6 separate regions of the Homo sapiens genome follow, and regions 1, 2, 3, 4 and 6 are each linked to region 5. The links are contacts of gene promoters, found by promoter capture Hi-C in blood cells and fetal thymus (Javierre and others, 2016). All regions are on one chromosome and are shown on one strand. The core of a region is centred on a gene start or on the middle of the fragment in contact, and the rest is flanking DNA. Distances in the headings are between cores, read along the strand shown. Region 1 holds the start of PM20D2 (peptidase M20 domain containing 2). Region 2 overlaps RNGTT (RNA guanylyltransferase and 5'-phosphatase). Region 3 overlaps RNGTT (RNA guanylyltransferase and 5'-phosphatase). Region 4 overlaps RNGTT (RNA guanylyltransferase and 5'-phosphatase). Region 5 holds the start of RARS2 (arginyl-tRNA synthetase 2, mitochondrial). Region 6 overlaps RNGTT (RNA guanylyltransferase and 5'-phosphatase).

The links. The method cuts DNA at HindIII sites, captures the fragments that hold promoters and counts their contacts. A CHiCAGO score of 5 or more calls a contact.
Region 1: a contact is called between the fragment with the promoter of PM20D2 here and the fragment with the promoter of RARS2 in region 5, in 1 of 17 cell types (total CD8 T cells). The highest score is 5.0, in total CD8 T cells.
Region 2: a contact is called between a fragment that was not itself captured here and the fragment with the promoter of RARS2 in region 5, in 1 of 17 cell types (erythroblasts). The highest score is 5.1, in erythroblasts.
Region 3: a fragment that was not itself captured here is called in contact with the fragment with the promoter of RARS2 in region 5 in 4 of 17 cell types (total CD8 T cells, total B cells, naive B cells and 1 more); the score reaches 6.3 in total CD8 T cells.
Region 4: a contact is called between a fragment that was not itself captured here and the fragment with the promoter of RARS2 in region 5, in 2 of 17 cell types (fetal thymus and total B cells). The highest score is 6.3, in fetal thymus.
Region 6: a contact is called between a fragment that was not itself captured here and the fragment with the promoter of RARS2 in region 5, in 1 of 17 cell types (M0 macrophages). The highest score is 5.2, in M0 macrophages.

The regions. Positions count from the first base shown.
Region 1 is chr6:89,144,296-89,147,676 of GRCh38, forward strand. PM20D2 (peptidase M20 domain containing 2) reads left to right here and starts at 1,760. Exons shown (of 7, transcript NM_001010853.3): 1 at 1,760-2,314. The coding sequence starts at 1,850. LOC101929004 (a long non-coding RNA gene) reads right to left here and starts at 2,571. Exons shown (of 4, transcript XR_942766.4): 1 at 1,398-2,571. RefSeq lists a silencer at 1,577-2,506. The HindIII fragment of the contact is 3,355 bases long and covers 819-3,381 here.
Region 2 is chr6:88,887,463-88,890,647 of GRCh38, forward strand. It overlaps RNGTT (RNA guanylyltransferase and 5'-phosphatase), which reads right to left. Exons shown (of 16, transcript NM_003800.5): 8 at 3,033-3,134. Among named protein-coding and RNA genes, the nearest start is that of RNGTT, 75 kb to the right of the region's middle. The HindIII fragment of the contact is 2,242 bases long and covers 320-2,561 here.
Region 3 is chr6:88,870,259-88,873,330 of GRCh38, forward strand. The region is part of intron 8 of RNGTT (RNA guanylyltransferase and 5'-phosphatase); the gene reads right to left. Among named protein-coding and RNA genes, the nearest start is that of RNGTT, 92 kb to the right of the region's middle. The HindIII fragment of the contact is 4,616 bases long and covers 1-3,072 here.
Region 4 is chr6:88,958,679-88,961,630 of GRCh38, forward strand. The region is part of intron 1 of RNGTT (RNA guanylyltransferase and 5'-phosphatase); the gene reads right to left. Among named protein-coding and RNA genes, the nearest start is that of RNGTT, 3.5 kb to the right of the region's middle. The HindIII fragment of the contact is 994 bases long and covers 1,034-2,027 here.
Region 5 is chr6:87,588,372-87,591,674 of GRCh38, forward strand. It overlaps RARS2 (arginyl-tRNA synthetase 2, mitochondrial), which reads right to left and starts at 1,616. Exons shown (of 20, transcript NM_020320.5): 1 at 1,551-1,616. The coding sequence starts at 1,586. It overlaps ORC3 (origin recognition complex subunit 3), which reads left to right and starts at 1,764. Exons shown (of 20, transcript NM_012381.4): 1 at 1,764-1,821. The coding sequence starts at 1,798. RefSeq lists enhancers at 746-1,707, 1,471-1,700, 3,081-3,303. The HindIII fragment of the contact is 3,839 bases long and covers 1-3,303 here.
Region 6 is chr6:88,907,832-88,910,976 of GRCh38, forward strand. The region is part of intron 4 of RNGTT (RNA guanylyltransferase and 5'-phosphatase); the gene reads right to left. Among named protein-coding and RNA genes, the nearest start is that of RNGTT, 54 kb to the right of the region's middle. The HindIII fragment of the contact is 2,707 bases long and covers 349-3,055 here.

The DNA.
Region 1 (3,381 bases), core at 510-3,009, 1.6 Mb after region 5:
TCCCTTTTCTGTTGCTGTTTATTGATGCCTGAGGAGGGCAAACATGGGTTCTACTGATGTCAGCAGGCAGAGTTGCTGCAGTAAAATTTATTCAAAATGAGTGTTGTGGGTTCTGATTTGAATAGATAAACTGGAGATGCATTTATGAATTTGCATGTCTGTTTACACAAGCAATAGACCATGGTGGCTGAAAGTCAGCCACTGGAGGCTGACTCTGGCTTCTGTTCTACAGTGGGTCCACTACTTACTAGCTCTATAATCTTGGACATACATCTGTAAAATGAAGATAAATAACCACATTAACCACCTCATAGTTTGCTGTGAGGATTAAATGAGTTAACAAATGCTAAGCCCTTGGAACAGTGCCTAGCACAGAGTAATTGCTCTACAAATGTCACCTATTGCTTTTGCTCTCCAATCCCCCCTTCTCCCCTTTTTTTAGCCAACTAACTGAGCAGGATAATATTGGATCTCGTGGATACAGGGTAATTTTCTTCAGCAGAATACCAGAGAAAGATTTATTATCGCCAAGGGGGCCCAGGAATTTAATAACACATTTGTTGTTTTTAGAGCTGAGTTTTTGTTGGAGTGTTAACTGAGAAAGAAAGTTTTCAGACGTGAATGGAATGTGACATTTACTCTGGTATTATTAGCATATAGAGTAGTAAAAACAGTAGTTGATAGTCTTCGTGCATGTTAGCTTCCCTTAGACTTATTTTCAAAATATTCATTTGGTTTATCACATTAATATATTGTGTCCCATTTAACATAGTTGAGACAAATTAAGGAAAGATGATAGGGTATGAAGAGCTGATAGAAGCTTTTAATATGTGGAAAACCTCAGAATATAAACATCTACAGTGTTATTAATAGGCATACCGTCAACAACAGTTTTTCAGACTTTGTGGTTCACTCTGGAGAAAAACAAGAGCATGACATCTTGAATTTCTTCACTGGGTAATTAAAAAACTCAGTTATAATGTAACACCAGCTGCACATATCATGTTAGTGGAGTTCAGCATCAATTAAAATTATAAACGAAACCTGTCATATGTTCCCTTTCAAAGCTGTTCAAGACAACTGTCCAAATCAACAAAACAGTATGAATATTTACTACCATAAATCTTTTAACTCTTTGGTTTTAACTCATTTCAAATTTTTAGTTCTACTCTATTCAAATAAATTATTATATAATAGCTAATACATACCAAGAGCTTACTGCATAATCTAGCTGCTGTTCCAGACATTAGTAACCAATGAGAAAACTGTAGAGAGTAGCTGCAGCTTTTAGTAATACAATGTCAAGGAGAAGAAAGTGGGGGCAGTACCGAAACTTACGTACAGTACCGTCGTTAGTACAGCATTGACACTGACGGCCTCCTTCAGGAAATACAAACCTTGTGAGGTTTTAATTACTAATGCTACAGAGTGGCGTTTTTCCGAGGACTGTGTTCCACTTGGTCTGTCTCTGATGGCTATTAACTAATAACCGTTCTCATTCTGCTGCTGTGGGAAATAAGCAACAACGGAAAAGTAATCGATAATCTTAGAGCATAACTCAAAGGCCAGAGCAGCCAAGGAGGTGGAAGAGTCCCGAGCCCTGCCTTCTCCACAGCACCCCCAAAACCCCACGGCGGGGCAGAGCGCCTGGTAGGGTACGAGCGGCCGCCAGCGTTTCCCGCGCGGCGCCGGGGGCGGCCCCGGGACTGGGGGTGGTGCCCTGGGAGCTGTGTGGCCGCGTGCGCGCTCCGCCGGGGTCCTGGAGGCCTCTGGGCGCGTGCGCGGGCGGTCGCTACCTGCGGCCGAGCCAGGGAGCGAGAGGGCGCAGAGGGCAGCGGGCTTGGGCAGCATGAGGCCCGGAGGGGAGCGGCCCGTGGAAGGGGGCGCGTGCAATGGCCGCTCCGAGCTGGAGCTACTGAAGCTGCGCTCGGCGGAGTGCATCGACGAGGCGGCCGAGCGGCTGGGGGCCCTGAGCCGCGCGATCTGGAGCCAGCCCGAGCTGGCCTACGAGGAGCACCATGCCCACCGCGTGCTGACGCACTTCTTCGAGCGGGAGCCGCCCGCGGCCTCCTGGGCAGTGCAGCCGCACTACCAGCTGCCCACGGCCTTCCGCGCCGAGTGGGAGCCGCCGGAGGCCCGGGCACCGAGCGCCACGCCACGCCCGCTGCACCTGGGCTTCCTCTGCGAGTACGACGCGCTGCCCGGCATCGGCCACGCCTGCGGCCACAACCTCATCGCTGAGGTCGGGGCGGCGGCCGCGCTGGGCGTGAGGGGGGCCTTAGAGGGCCTCCCCAGGCCGCCTCCGCCCGTGAAGGTGAGGTGGGGCCCGGGTGCGGGACCCTATCCGACTGCCCGGGTCGGGGGCGACCCGGGAAGGGCGGGACTCTCGTGCGTCCCGCGCGCCTCGGTGCCCTCCCGCCCGGGGCAGGTGTGTGTGGGACCGCGCTAAACCTGCGGTCCTCGCCTCGGCGCAGGAGCAGAGCTGAACCCCCAGTCAAAGTCAGTTCGCGTTGCCGACCTGGCGACATCTTGCAGATTATTGTTTCCTCCTCTCTAGTTATAAACAGCTCTGCTGAGTTGTTCCCTTAGGAAAGAACTTACACCCAAGCCTGGTGTTTGTTACGGGTTATTTTTGGTAACTGAGAGAGGCAACAGCAATTTGCTGACAAGGTTGTGCCATCAATCTCAGGAGGAAATAACTTCTTGTAGGTAATCCTACGGCCCCTTTTTATTCGTCTCCAAATAAATCTTTTGTTTGTGGCAGTCCTAGAAAATGTGATTCAAGTCATTGGTATTTGGATAGGAATTTTCAGTCGCTAGAACCACCAGACCCCTAGAAGTATACAAATAAAGGGGAAGTGAATGAGCATTATACATAGATGAGTTCATCCTTAAGTCTTAATTTTTTTGTTTTATGATTTTAAGAAATACCTCGACTCTTTAAACAGGGAAATGTCGTTTATGTTTGTCGTAGGGCAAGTTTAATCCTGTTTTACTCTGCTTTTCCAGATGGTATATTCTACACTATGAGCTAAGATTCAATCGTCATTCAGTTAAGGGGAAAACAAATGTTTTATTTTCATACTCTTTAGTTCATTTCCCCCAGTGTCAGTAACCTTCCTCTTTTATCCTAACACTACATCTTTTGTGGCTTTTTCACTTTAGCTGCCTTCTTTTTTCTGTCTCTGGAGGCTCGTTTTTGCATTTGTTAGGTTTTTGTTTGGGTTGGGGGAAGCATGCTTTGCCATGTCACAAACACTGGAGAGATTTCGCTTCAACCACGTTTTTAAAGGTTCTGAGTAGTCAGCGAGAGACATATCGTATTTAATGAGTTAAGGGTCAAGAATGAAGAGCGGTGGGCAGATCAGTTGAGGTCTGGAG
Region 2 (3,185 bases), core at 191-2,690, 1.3 Mb after region 5:
GGCCCAGAAACACCTTGCAAAATTTTTTCTCTCCCAGAAAAAAGTATCCTAAAACAGAGTAGGTATTCAATAAATACTCAGGGTTTTCCTTTTGTTTTTGGTGGAGCCTGGTTCTAGGAGAAATTAGATATTTCCATTAGCAATCAAAAACATCTTAACCAATTACTTCATAAAAAATTACTTTAGCCAATCATCTAGGGGTCTAACAATACCAACACACAGAGAAAGGGGTACACAACTACAGAGGAGGAACAAAATCAACAAAAGTTGGATGGCAGAAACAAGAGACAAATTTTGCAGGCTTTATTATTTTGCCCAAAGCTTACCATGATACTGTGAAGAAAGCAATGCAGAAAGTAAAGAGTATATAAGGCCAGATGTGGTGGCTCATGCCTGTAATCCTAACACTTTGGGAAGCCAAGGCAGGAGGATCACTACAGCCCAGGAGCTCAAGACCAGCCTGGGCAACATGGCAAGATCATATCTCTACAGAAAATTTTAAAAATTAGCTGGCCATAGTGGTGCATGTCTGTAATCCCAGCGACTCTGGAGGCTGAGGTGGGAGAATGACTTGAGCCCAGGAGGTCAAGGTTGCAGTGAGCAATCACTGTGCCACTGCACTCTAGCCTAGGCAACAGAGTGAGGACCCTGTCTCAAAAAAATAAGATAATAAAATAAATTTCAACAGAAAAAAAAAAGAGTACCTAAAATATGAAACTCCTAAGAGGTTAAATGTATGCCTCAATCCCAAATCCCCAGTTCATTTCGTAGTGTAAAGCCTAGAGATAGACACCTTGACCTCACGTTTTCCACTCTTTCTCCACCCACAGAAGTAAGACATTTGTTAAGACATTTTTACGTATCTATTAAAATGTATGTCTCAACAACATCCTTAACATCCTTACTACCAATTTAATAGATTCTGAACATAATCTAACCCAACATATTAAATAAATATAATTTTAATATTCTGAAAATAAGCAGAAAGGCTAATTTTCATTTATCCATCAAAAACACATATCCACAGGGAAGGGTGCAGAATGGGTAAATGATCCAAATTCTGTTTATGGATCTATATCTTTCTTTGTATAACTGCTGCAAGCACACAAGGCACATTTTTTCATTTCTACACTGTTTCAATTTTGCATTATACATTATTATTAATTTTTAAGGCTAGTTCATTAAGGAAGTTCAAAATAATATGAACAAATAAACATATAAATATCAAATACTTGTTATTTAACTACTTGAATTAGTACACAAAGCATTAATAATAAAAACCACAGGCCAGGCACGGTGGCTCACACCTGTAATCCCAGCACTTTGGGAGACCAAGGCAGGTGGATCACCTGAGATAGGGAGTTCGAGACCAGCCTGACCAACATGGAGAAACCCTGTCTCTACTAAAAATACAAAATAAGCCAGGTGTGGTGGCACATGCCATAAACCCAGCTACTTGGGAGGCTGAGGCAGCAGAATCGCTTGAACCTGGCAGGCGGAGGTTGTGGTGAGCCGAGATCGTGCCATTGCACTTCAGCCTGGACAACAAGAGTGAAAACCCGTCTCAAAAAATAATAATAATAATAAAAACCACACCTGCCATATAACCCAGAGAAAAAGGTCAATACCATAAGGACAGTAGTGATAATCTCTAGGTGATAAAATTTCTTTTTTATTTTCTTCTTTTTTAATGTTATTTTCTGAATTTTGTCAAATGAATATGTCTTACCTATAAAATACCCTAAAAAAGCTAAAAAATGCTAAACTGAGGGGAAAAATTGTTTCCAACAGAGGCAGACAATTAAAATGAATGAAAATATTTTTAAATATTCCCAATAAAAATCAAATATAATAAAATACTTAAACATTCTAGAAAGCATATAATGTTAAAATATCATTATAGTCACCTAATAATGAAAATAGGTTGTATCTGCTCCACTTCTTTTCTCCATATATATCTTTTAAGGTAACTACATGTTAAATGGAGATGGAGATGGCATGATACAAAGAGTATAACTGCCACTTAAGACTTTCCAAAACTCATAAAAATTAAATAGAATCTGTCATCTTCAAAATAACACTTAAAAGCTAATATATATGTACTGCCAGTTATTCCAAAACATTTTATTATGAAATAGTTAATGACTTCTATGTTAATATCTGTTAAAATAATTATTTCAACTTGCTAAATGAATACATACATATAGCAAAACTGTAATAGATGCAAAAAAATATGGATTACAAAAGAAAAAAATAAAATGTTGCTGAGGAAGAATAAAATTTCTACTAATATCTTGACCAGCCTGGGCAACATAAGGAGACTTCATCCTTACAAAAAATTTAAAAAATAGCCAGGCAGGGTGGCACATTCCCATAATCCCAGCTACTCAGGAGGCTAAGCTACTATTCAGGAGACTGAGGTGGGAGGATTACTCGAGCCCAGGAGTTCAAGGCTGCAGTGAGCCTTGATCGTGCTAAGGCACTGCCGCCTGGGTGACAGAGCAAGATCCTGTCTCAAATTAAAAAAATCTTAAAACTTAGAAATATAAAATTTGAAATTAAGCTTTGTTGTAATAATGCAACAACCTTGCGAGTATATAAAGAGAATAAGGCAAATTATTCAAAGGAGAATACAGAATGAATCAGAGAGAGTTCATCATTTTTAGATTACAAACTGGCAATTTATCTATTAACCTCAACATGTCCAATATCATTAAAAAACAAGGCAGTGGGCAGCAGACATACCAAAAACCATATCATTAAGAGAAAAACACTTTCAAACTTAACATCTAGTTATAGATTTATGTTAAACTAGCTAAGCTCTGAAACCAAAAATTTAGCAGAATGAGAGATAACTTGTGCTATACAGCTTAGAACACTAGCAAAACCAAAAATATATAATTTTTGAAACATTTATTTTGCTATTCACATTAGAAATTCACACTCTCAAGAGTGTAAACTTTTCTAACAATAAAACAATATTCTTCAAGCATTAGGGTTATTTGTGTAATTTTTTTAGAAGTCTAACTTACCGAGTACCATCTGCTTTCCAGCTTACTTTGTATGGCTTCAGGTCTAAAAGTTTAATATTTTGCTTGTCCATGGAAACAGGCTGTGCTCCAGGGAATCCAGACCTTAAAGAAGAACACAGTATTACTATCGTGGCTGGTATCCATACAAAGCAA
Region 3 (3,072 bases), core at 107-2,606, 1.3 Mb after region 5:
CAAAAACCAAATGTAGTTCCTCCAGAAAATAAAAATCCTATATATGATTTTAAAACATATGGTTATAGAATTTTTTCCCCAAAATATATCATTAGGGCACATATATAAAAATTACTGTTCCTCATATACCACATACAAGTCAAATAACTTTTCTATCCTATGAACATAAATTTCACTGCCTATAAATAAAAGAGCTACATTCCAACATCATGTTTTTCTATTAGACTCCTTTGCTCCCAACACAATTAAGAGCAAAAAAAAAAAAAAAAATCCAAATGGGATAAAAGAGAATCTTCATATCATTCTTCCCTTCTGAGATTTCAACTTAAGAATGTCTCAGTTTCCTGATACAGAAAAAACACTTCTAGGGACTTTAATACGGCTACATTGTTTTTACCAAAAAAGGTCCAAAATGGCACTTTAAGGTCATTTGCAAATATAATAATTCAGATGCAATGCACAAAAGAACATACCAACATTGTCAAAATGGCTATGCTTTCAGTAATGCTGTATATATGATCCCACTAATCCTTACTAAATTCTTAATAATCCCCAGCTAATATTCTGGGTTGTATTATAAAATAGATGTCCAATGCACTGGATACCATTAGAATTCTACTGCTTCACAAAAGCAGTCTGAATTAAACCTGGTCCTCTGCTGCCATCTAGCGAAGTCATAAGATCCCAAAATGAAATCAAAAGTGACAATTGTTCAGATCTATTCAATAAATCATTAAAATACATTAATTATTTCAGAAAATGCTGTTTGTAGTTTTTACTACAAAAACTGCTACAATAATAAATATACTGGAGGATTTTGCTCCAAAGAAAATGTATGCATATTTCCATAAATGTATTCTAGAGTATACAGACCATAGCAATAAACTCCTATAATAAGCTATCAGATGAATAATTACTCATTCAAAAAAGTTATTTAGAATAATATTATCATGGTATTCTTATAAAAGCAAAACTTTCAAAACAAGCTAAATTTACAACCACACAGAAATTTTCAAAGTATGATGCACTTATACAATGGAATGTTCCATACAATAGAATGATTCTTCCCAAGACACTACTGAAATAATAGCAGAGTTTTTTTTTTTTTAAGTATAAAGCTATATGGTCCTGAAAAATATGTCCTGAAAGTCCACAAAATTATTTGACACTCTTAACCTCAAGAGATGGAGCTTAATTCCCCTCCTTTAAGTTTGGGCTAGACTTATATGTTACAACAAATAGAATATGGCAGAAGTGGATTGTATGTCACCTCTTGGGCTAGATTAGATTAGATTATAAACAGACTACTACTTTTATCTTGGGTGTTCTCTTAGATCATTTGCTATAAGTAAAGCTGGCTGCCATATGGTGAGGACACTCAGGCAGCTGTGAGAACCCACTCGGAACCCCAGAGCTGGTATGAAGATTATTTTAACCAGAAGACATTTGAGAGTCAACAAATGCAGAAAGGTGGCTGTTCAGAGCTTTCCTTATCTGACTAAAAGCAGAAACTTCCGGGAATTAAGCTACCATAAATCCTTTCTTCTAGGTGGCTTCACTCCCAGAAAGAAGACTGAGAGTAAAACTATCATAAATCCCCTCTCCAGGAGTTTATGGCCACGAAGAAGATGGAAAAGACCATTCCCCCCCATAAAAACAAACATTTCTTACCTCCTATTTGTTCCTCTAAAAATCCACTTATCCTTCCTAAAGAATTCCATTTTTTTTCTTACACTGAAGCCTATTCTCCACCTTCCCTTTCCACCATTAAATTAGACATACAAACTTGAGACATTAAGTTAGGAATACAAACTTTAGGCATAGTCCCATTAAGTTAGGAATACTAACTTCAACCATCTTGTAAGCCACTTCTTTTATGTGCTTCCATACACATATAAACTTTGTTTTTTCTCTTGCTAATCTATGTTTTGTCAGTTTAATTTGTAGGCCCCTAACTATTGAACCTAAGTGGGTACAGGAAAGTTTTTCCTCCCCACTGGTAAGAAATGGAGGTCTCATGCCAACAGCCAGCTGAGGAACTGAGGCCTGCCATCAACCATACACATGAGCTTGGAAGTGGACCCTTGAAATGACAACAGCCCTGGCCAACAGCTTGACTGCAATCTGATAGACGACATTGAACCATAATCACCCAGCTTAATAGGTACAAAAAAAAAGAATAAATGAATAAGACCTACTATTTGATAGCACAATAGGGTGACTATAGTCAACAATAACTTAACTGTACTTTCCAAAATAACTTAGAGTATCATTGGATTGCTTGTAACAAGGGATAAATGCTTGAGGCTATGGATTTAAGAAAAACAAAAAAGACTCACCCAACCACACTGCTCCCAAGAAACGATGAGACAGTAAATATTTGAATTTTAAACTGTTATATTTTGGGGTAATTTTAGGGTAATTTATTAGAAATGGCTATAACAATGAAGATAATGAAGGGAAGGAGAAAAGAGCATCAGCAGATGCACTATTTCAATAAATTTCTGGTTGACAAGAAATAGACGGAGAAGTACTGAAAAGTGCTGAGAAGCATGCACAGAGGTAGCAGGATTCACAGATGGAGGTGCCTATTTTACAAAACCCCAAAGAAGATCCAGACCCAGAAACATCAAGTGCACAGGATGACTACAGTGACATATGGACTGAAAAGGAGGGATTGGTTATTTTTAGCTATGTACAACAATTAAATTCTCACAACTCATACACACAACACACAGGTTATTCCTCAAGCAAAAGAAAAGAAAAATCAGAGAGCTCTTCTCTAAAGAAACTGAAACAGGGTGGGAGGGTGAACAGAAAAAAAAAAGAAAGAAAGTAAAAGAAACTGAACCAAATGGGTAGTGAGGGAAGAGCACCTAAGCACAACTGCTTATCATAAAGCAAAGGTCAGAAATTGACAAACCCAGCCCACATTCATGGAGCTTCCAAGCAGCTTCTCTGCCTCGTTTCAAATGCACAGCCAACCAAGGATCACCACACATTTGAAGAAACTAGAAACATAAAGAAGAAAGATGATTCAAGGAAGAGAAAGATAACTTTAAATATGCTTTT
Region 4 (2,952 bases), core at 281-2,780, 1.4 Mb after region 5:
GAATGGCCATAATTAAAATATCAAAAAATATTAGATGTTGGCATGAATGTGGGGAAAAGGTAACACTTTTACACTGCTGGTGGGAATGTAAATTATTACAACCACTAGGGAAAACAGTATGGTGATTCCTTGAAGAACTAGAAGAACTACCATTTGATCCAGCAATCCCACTACTGGGTATCTACCCAGAAGAAAATAAGTCATTATCTGAAAAAGCCACTTGCACAGGCATGTTTACAGCAGCACAATTTGCAATTGCAAAAATGTGGAACCAGCTTAAATGCCCAAGAACCAATGAGTGGATAAAGAAAATGTGATATGTATATATACCATGGAATACTACTCAGCCATAAAAAGGAATGAAATAATGGCATTCATGGCAACCTAGATGGAGTTGGACCCCATCATTCTAAGTGAAGTAACTCAGGAATGGAAACCCAAATATCCTGTGTTCTCACTTGTAAGTGGGAGCTAAGCTATGAGAATGCAAAGACATAACAATGATATAATGGACTTTGGGTACTCAGGGGGAAGTGTGGAGAGGGGGGATGAGGGATAAAAGACTACTACAGTGTACACTCCTTGAGTGACAGGTGCACCAAAATCTCAGAAATCATCACTGAAGTACTTATCCATGTAACCAAAAACCACCTGTCCCCCAAAAACTACTGAAATAACATAAAAATGTTTTTTAAAAAGATCTTTACTAAAGATCTCTATTTGAGCAATCAGGATCTTAATATCTCCTCCAACCTGCTTCTCTCTCAGTAAGCCCTAATAATATCAACTATCTCATGTGCATAAGCCAGACATTTGAGACTAAATTTTGACCCTCTTTCCCTCATTCTAAATACGACATCAAGTTCTGTCCATTTTCCCTTCTTAATATCTCTCAAATTAGCCTTCTACTCTTCATCTGTCACTTTTAAACTATCACTATTGTCTTTCACCTGGACTACAACAAGTTCCTAATTAGTCTCTCCATTTCCACTCTTTTCTCCATCAATTCATTAAACACAGAAAAGTCAAAGTAAGCTTTTAACTTGGATTCAAATAATCTCATCTCGATGCTGAAAAAAAAAACTGCAATTGTATGCCACTGAAAATTTAAAGCATATAAATATTAGGATACCTTATCACACCCTACTTGCCTGTATGATCAGGCTATTCTCCAACCTCTTAACCTCACTTACATCTTCCAGAACAAAGACACTTTTTCAGTCTATTATCTCTCCCATCATCATCCTATCCTAACAGAAACTTTCAATAACACCCCCTGCCAACTATTTATCTAGAAAACTTCTATTTACTGAAGATAATTCATGTATGACCTTCTCTGGGAAGTCTCACCTGATCTCCTTCTTCCTTCCCATCTCTTCTTCCTCAACCTCAAAGAATTAGGTTTATTACCTCTGATTCCCATCATATACCACAATAGAGTCATTGCTACATTTTTTACAACAGAACTGTGCTTAAAATGGATGGTTTGCTACTCCCATGAGACTCTGCTTTTTAAGGGTAATATATCTTAGCCATCTCCCTAGCACCCAGGACTAGCACAAAGTAGACATTTAAATATTTGCTAAATAAAATGACTTCAAAATCACCATCACTATCACCATCACACTATCCTGAGTACCTGGGACCACAAGTATGTGCCAATGCACCTGGCTGTGTCTCATATTTACATTCCCACAGTTCCTAGTAAGCTCTTTACATAGCAGATATGAAATAATTTTATGTTGAATGATATATCTTTAAGAAACTAGGGAGGGCTGGGTGCGGTAGCTCACACCTGTAATGCCAACACTTTGGGAGGCCAAGGCAGGCGGATCACCCGAGGTCAGCAGTTGGAGACCAGCCTGGCCAACATGGTGAAACCCCATCTCTACTAAAAATACAAAAAAGAAAAGAAAAGAAAAGAAAAAAAGGAAAAAGGAAAAGAAATTATAAGTTTGTTTTCTTCCAAGTATTCACCTGAAATCTATTAACTCAGAAGGAGGAAAAAACAGTTCTTCAGAAAATAAAGCTTGGCCCTGTCTCCAAGAGCTCTCTCTCATTGCAAGTCTGGTTTCATCAGAGAAAGTGACTTCACAGAGAAACAAATTATATGTAGTTAGTACCATTTTCTTTCTGATTCAGGAAAATTATGAACTTCTAGTACTAGTAAAGTGAATCCTAACATTTACAACATATAAGTTTGAGCAGCCATAACATTTTCCTCAATATGCAAAATATCAAAGAAATTACTGTGATGGTTAATACTGAGTGTCAACTCGATTGGATTGAAGGATGCAAAATATTGATCCTGGGTGTAGAGGGTGTTGCAAAGGAGATTAACATTTGAATCAGTGGGCTGGGAAAAGCAAACCCACCCTTAATCTGGGTGGGCACCATCTAATCAGCTGCCAGCATGGCTAGAATATAAAGCAGGCAGAAAAATGTGAAAAGACTTGACCGGCTTAGCCTCCCAGCCTACATCTTTGTCCTGTGGTGGACGCTTCCTGCCCTCAAACACTGGATTCCAAGTTCTTCCATTTTGGGACTCAGACTGACTCTCCTTGCTCCTCAGTTTGCTGACAACCTATTGTGGGACCTTGTGATCGTGTGAGTTAACAGTTAATAAACTCCCCTTTACGTCTGTATGTGTGTGTGTGTATGTATGTGTGTGTGTGTATATATATATATGTACATATATTTCCTATTAGTTCTGTCCCTCTAGAGAACCCTTACTAATAAATTACACGATAAGTACAAATTACTTTTTTTTTTTTTTGAGATGGAGTCTCACTCTGTCACCCATGCTGGAGTGCAGTGGTGCAATCTCAGCTCACTGCAACCTCCGTCTCCTGGGTTCAAGTGATTCCCCTGCCTCGGCCTCCCGAGTAGCTGGGATTACAGGCACATACCACCACGCCATCATAGCTTTTTGGCTATTCATATAACTTATTT
Region 5 (3,303 bases), core at 366-2,865:
ATTTTTATTTTTTGTTTACAGGGTCTCGCTCTGTCACCCACCCTGGAGTGCAGTGGCACAATCATAGCTCACTGTAGCTTCAAACTCGTGGGTCCGTCCAAGTGATCCTCCAGACTCAGCCTTTCAAGCAGCTAGGACTACAGAGGTGCACCATCATGCCTGGCTACTTTTTAAAAAAAATTTTGTTGAGACGGGGTCTACCTATGTTGTCCACGCTGGTCTCGAACTCCTGGGCTCAAGCCATCCTCCCACCTTGGCCTCCCAAAGTGCTGGGATTATAGGCATGAACCACATGCCAGGCCTATTAGTTCTTCCAATAGAAAACCTCAATAGTTTATGCCTTAAGGCTTCTTGCACTCTTTGCTTTTCCTATCAATCTTAAACCGCTGTATCAGATCAGAGTCCAACCCTAATCAAGCCATCTTCCTCCAACACCCTCCTACCCTCTCCCTCTGAAAGACCAGCCTTAAGCCATACCCATCAGTAAAATCTGACCTTGCTTTCCCAGTTTAATACACTACCAAAGCTCTCAGTGGTGTTCTTCCTTATCCCAGTGAGCAATAAATTCAGCTGTCTTAACAAAATGTCATGTTGGTGATATTTGGCGAATTATCACCGGACAGGGCAGTACATCTATAAACATAAAGACAAGGCAGAGGGATTTCCCCACAAATGTCTAGAAATACTGTAAAAATGAGCCAAGATAAATTATACACCAGGCTAATTACGTCCACTAGTACATCCATTAATCAGAAGGAAATGGGTTAGCCAAGACCACAATAGAAAGTTTCCTTGCAAGGGTGGCCAATGAGTCTTAAAAATTCTTTTTGATTAATTCCACATTTATACTGCAATTTTGCCCAGCGCGGTGGCTCAGGCCTGTAATCCCGGCTCTTAGGGAAGCAGAGGAGGGAGGACAGCTTGAGCCCAGGAGTTTGAGGCCTGCCTGGGCAATACGGCGAGACCCCGTTCTCCACAAAAAGGAAAAACAAAACAAAGCAATTATATTGCAATTTTGTAAGCCCTTCCTCACAACAGAGCTGTTCAAATACGACCCTGAACCAAGAAAAACTGAGTCTCAGATAGCTCTTATATCTTTGGGCGTTACCAAAAACAATTCTAGGGTAGGCTGCCTAAGTGACTGCAAGAGAAATAAGCAGCTTTAAAATGAGGTCCTTCTGAAGAACAATCCAGATCCATCATCAATGTCACTAAAGTGTAAAGAACACTAACTTCTATGGGGTCTAATCATGGTCTAATGACTTGCCGCCACCCAGGTAAAGCATTCATAGCTGTGGGGTGGGAAGGAGAGAAGAAAGCACCAGGTACCTTTCAAAGTTTACTTTTCACCGAGACAAACTGATCCCAGCCGACGCTCCACAGGACTTCTGAAGCTCCACCAGCTCCAGAGAAGGGGGAGGAGGTGGTAGAAACTAACAGGATTCCGTGGGACCCACCCTCCAGCTGACTGAGGACTGGCCCGCAGCGGTGAAAGGCCTTTGGGGTCCCTAGCTCCTCAGGGACTCCTCTGCGCGCTCCGGGATCCATACCTGGCAAGCAATAGCGCGGCGAAAGCCGCACGCCATGTCCACCTCTACGGAAGTGCGCCGCAGTCCGCCAGTTCCGGCCTCGCCCCACCTCCTTATACGACCCGCCTCCCCGCGCCGGAAACCCGCCCCGGAGGGTGATGCCAGCCAATCAAGGAGCCGTGTGGCTCGCCACTAACCTCTGCCCTGCAGCCGCGAGGGCGCGCGGGAAATCCCGAGTGCATCTGGAATACGCAGAGTCAGTAAGACCATGGCTACGTCCTCGATGTCTAAGGTATGTGGTGGCCGATGCGCACTGTGGCTCTACCGCTGCCTCATTCCCCTTTGAAGAAGGGATGAAGCCGAGGTTACGTAGGCATCCCTTCCCTGGCTGGAGAGGAGGGAGGGAGCGGCGTACTGAGCTGAGGCGTCCTTGCTCCAGATCAGTTGAGGCCAACTTTGCTTGGGGAGCGAGGACGCGGATCTGCCTTGTGGTATGGCTAGGAGGATTTTTAAGTTCTGGTTGGTGGAGGTCGGATGTCCTGATGATGTGGCCCAGTCTCTCATTTTTCCATCTCACAAATACTGTGCGCCAAGCACTCCGTTAGGTACCAAGATGCAGTGGTAAACAAAACAGATTCAGTTTCTGCAGTCAAGAAAGTCGGTAAACATAGATAAACTGACGATCACAAATTTTAAGTGTTAGCAAGGAAAAGAGTTCTAGGCAGACAACAGAAGAGTGGGAAGAACCTAATATAGGTTGTCGGGGGTTAGCGGAGGCTTTTTGGAGAAAGTGACCCTTTCGCTGAGACCTGAAAAATGAGTAGAAGTTAGGTTAAGGATTAGGGCGAGGAGGGCAGAGAGAACAGCATGTTTCTTCGGCCCAGAAGATAGAAATAAAATGGCATATTAGAGGAATTTAAAAATCATAATCAGAAAGTAGACAAAGAGTGGGAGCGTCATGAAAAATGAGAATGAAAAAGTAATGTGGATGCGGGTGTGTGTGGTGGGATATCTTATAGACCTCCTCATGTTGGCTACCTAGATGGCAAGAAATTGCAAGACATAGTGTAGTTGGTAAGAAGATAAGCCCTAGAGCTGTATTGTCCAATGTGTTAGTCACTCACCACATGTGGCTATTTAAATTTGAGTTAAAATAAAGTAAGATTAAATAAAAATTCAGTTTCTCCGTTGCACTAACCACATTTCAAGTGCTCAATCATCACATGTGGCTGCAGCTACCATTTTAGATAGTGCAGATATAGGACATTTCTATCATTACAGAAAGTTCTGTTGGACAGCGCTGTTCTGGACCACAAAAAGTAAGACCTTGAGTTCTATTGTAAGTGCAGCGGGAAGCCCCTGAAGTTAAGCTGTCTGAGAAAGCTGAAAAATGCACATGAAGAAGCTACATTCTCCCTATGTTAAAACAATGGATTGATGAAGAAGGCTATGTCATGGATCTGATTTTTTATTTTGATTAAAACGGTTTATGAGAAGCAGTGCTTTTAAAGACTACATCTCAAGGAAAAAGGACAAGCCCTGGGGTTTAAGGTTATGCTAGTAGAGATTCAAAGGTAGTATTTTTATTAGAAATGGTACTGGTTTTATTTTGTCCTGGTTATAATGTTCTGTAGGTTTTGAATGGTCTATCCCTTAATCCTGTTGATTGCATAAGCACCTCTTATTTTTATGTATCTTGCAGAAAGTAAGATTTTTCAGGAAAGCATTTTTGGTATTATAACAAATGTCTGTATTGGGATGAGACCTTACATGA
Region 6 (3,145 bases), core at 452-2,951, 1.3 Mb after region 5:
GCTCAAGTGATCCTCCCACCTCAACCTCCAGAGTAGCTGGAACTACAGGCTCACACCACCATCCCCAGCTAATTTTTTTCTATGGTAAAGACAGGGTCTCATTATGTTGCTCAGGCTGGTCTCAAACTCATGGGATCAAGCAATCCTCTCACTTCAGCCTCCCCAAGTCTGGGATTACAGGCATGAGCCACAATGCCCAGCCTGTATCTTTCTAATATTACCTTCTACAAATTATTCTTCTCTGTATATATAGATCATACTGATACAGTGCAACTAAGATCAAATATAGAAATAAACTAGCTAGATTTACAAAACTTCTAGAAGAAAATACAGGAGTAAATCTTTGCAAGCTTAGAGTAGAAAAAGTTTCTTAGATAAAACACAAAAAGCATAAAATGAAGAAAAATACTGATAAATTAGACTATTTCAAAATAGCAAGGGTTTGCTCTTTGAAAGACATCATTAAGAATATAAAAAAGAGTTCTAGGCAAGACGGCCAACTACCTACAGCTGAAAAACGCCTCTTCCATGAAAAGGAACCAAAATATCAAGTAAGCCACCACACTTTGAACCACCAAAACTTGACAATACAAAATCCTGCAACTTTGAACAGATCTTTTGAGAGAAAACACTGAAAGCCAATAGAGAGGCAAAGCAGACACAGTGTTTGAAGAGGGAAGAAGCGACGTAGACTGCTTGGAGTAACTAGGCACCAGGACTGGCCCCCAGTTCCAGTGTGGACCTAAGGGAGGGCTGAGTAAAGGAACCCTGGGGCACCACACTCCCACCATGGTCCTCTGGGATCCTAGCTACAAGATTCTAGCCATGAGCCCCACAGACCACGGTGCAGCTGCAGCAAAACACCACCATAGGGCCCATCCTCCAAGGCTCTCCAGCTTGTACTGAGTGGCTGCAGGTCCTGCTATCTGCAGGGCGAAGAGAGTAAGACTGCCACTGCCATAGGACCATAGTGTATCTGATCCACATGCCCCTTTGCCTGCCAACTCTTCAAAGACTGCCTGCCTGGCTGCTCCTGCAAGACAGTGCCCACAGAACAGCCTCCACTTCCCTGCCTGAGTGTTCTGCTGGCAGCCTGCTGGCTGATCCTAAGGGGCCAGAGGACAAATGTGCAGGCCTGGTCCCACTTCCCCAGGACTCAAGCACACTGCCCAGGGGTATTGAGTTAAGCTCTGTGGCCTGAGCTTGGGCAGGAAAGGAGCCTTCACTCTCAGAATACAGAGAAGAGTGTGGCATGGAAACTAAGCAACCTCTCTTCAGAAGACCAGTCCAGGATGGGTGTGGCCTGACAGCCAGCCAAGGTTTCTTCCCCAGGAAGCTCCGTGGCTTGGAGCATCTGAAATGGCTCAACGAACTGGGCACGCAGGGCTTTTGAGACAAGCCTGGCCAGTCTGGTTGCGCCTGCTCCTGAGACAGACATCAGACAGAGACCAACCAGGTCAGGGGAGTGCAAGTTGTGAGGGCCACACAGCCATCGGCTGGGCTGCAAACCCGGGCCATGGTCACTATACTGGCTACACACACATACGGTGCCACTTCCCTGCCTGAGGATCTACCACCCTTGCTTGACCCACTGCATTACCAGACCACCTGCAGACATACCCCACAACCCACTCTTACTGACAAGCACAGGGGACTGGTAGGTCCCTAAGGAGTTTCAGGTCTCCTGGTGGCCTAACCCTTGGCTTGAATCATATCTAAGCGAGCAGGAAGAGAAGCCCACCAAAGCCCCACACAGAGCAAAGGAAACGTGAGACAGTGCCAGTAGCTGAGGGGGATACCACCAAGGCTTAAGAACAGACTATGAGAGAAAGTCATCTCTTACCCTGCGTCCTCTCTCCAGAGCACTGCTGAGGACACAATGAAATACAAAGGGAGCATGCGCAGCTGTGTAAGAGCCTATCTGCCCTTATATTTAAGCACCAACTGCAGCTTGAATTACACAGCAAAACAAAATACACTGCTTCAACATGCAAAGCCTGTGAAACCCTCATAGAAACCTATCTACAACCAAGGAACTCATACAGAGCCTTGGCCCTCTGAAAGCACCCAGAAATGAAGCCAACTGACTATACACAACATTTACCACCATCAAACTCTCAAGGGAAAAAAGAATATTTAAAAAAAAAAAACCCATTCAATCAACAGCAAATTCAAAAACAAAAAGAAGGACCAGTTCCCTCAGATGAGAAGTAATCAGTGCAAGAACTCTGGCAATTCAAAAAGTTAGAGTGTTTTGTTATTTCCAAAGGATTGCATATACTCCCTAGCAATGGATCCCAACCAGAACGTAATGTCTGAAATTATAGACACAGAATTCAGAATATGGATGGCAAGGAAGCTCAACAAGACCCAAGAGAAGGTTGAAATCCAATCCAAGGAAGTCAGAAAAACAATCCAAGATTTGGAATATAACATAGCTATACTAAGGAAGAACCAATCTGAAATTCAATTCACCACAGGAATTTCAAAATACAATTAAAAATCTTAACAACCGGCCTTATAAGAGATGCTTAACAACAGACTAAACCAAGCAGAGGAAAGAATCTCAGAGCTTGAAGACCAATCCTTTGAAGCAACTGAGTCAGACAAAAATAAAGAAAAAGAATCTTCAACAAATGAACAAAGCCTCTGAGAAATAATAGGATTACATAAAGTGACCAAACCTACAACCCACGATATTCCTAAGAAGAAAGAGTAAGCACCATGAAAGACATATTTGAGAATATAATCCACAAAAATGTCTCCAAAGTTGCTAGACAGGTCAACATGCTAATATAAGAAACTCAGAAAACCCCTGTACGGTACTATACAAAACGACCATCATCAAGGCAGAGTCATCAGACTTTCCAAGGTCTATGTAAAAGAAAAAATCTTAAAGACAACTAGAAAAAGAGTCATATCACCTATAAAGGGAACCTCATCAGGCTAACAGCAGACTTCTCAGTAGAAATCTTATAAGCCAGAAGAGACTGGAGGCCTATATTTAGCATCCTAGGAGAAATTCCAGCCAAGAATTCCATATCCCACCAAATTAAGCTTCATAAGCGAAGGAGAAATAAAATCTTTGCAGGATTAGCAATTGCTAAGGGAATCTGTTACCACTAGACTGGCCTTACAAGAGATG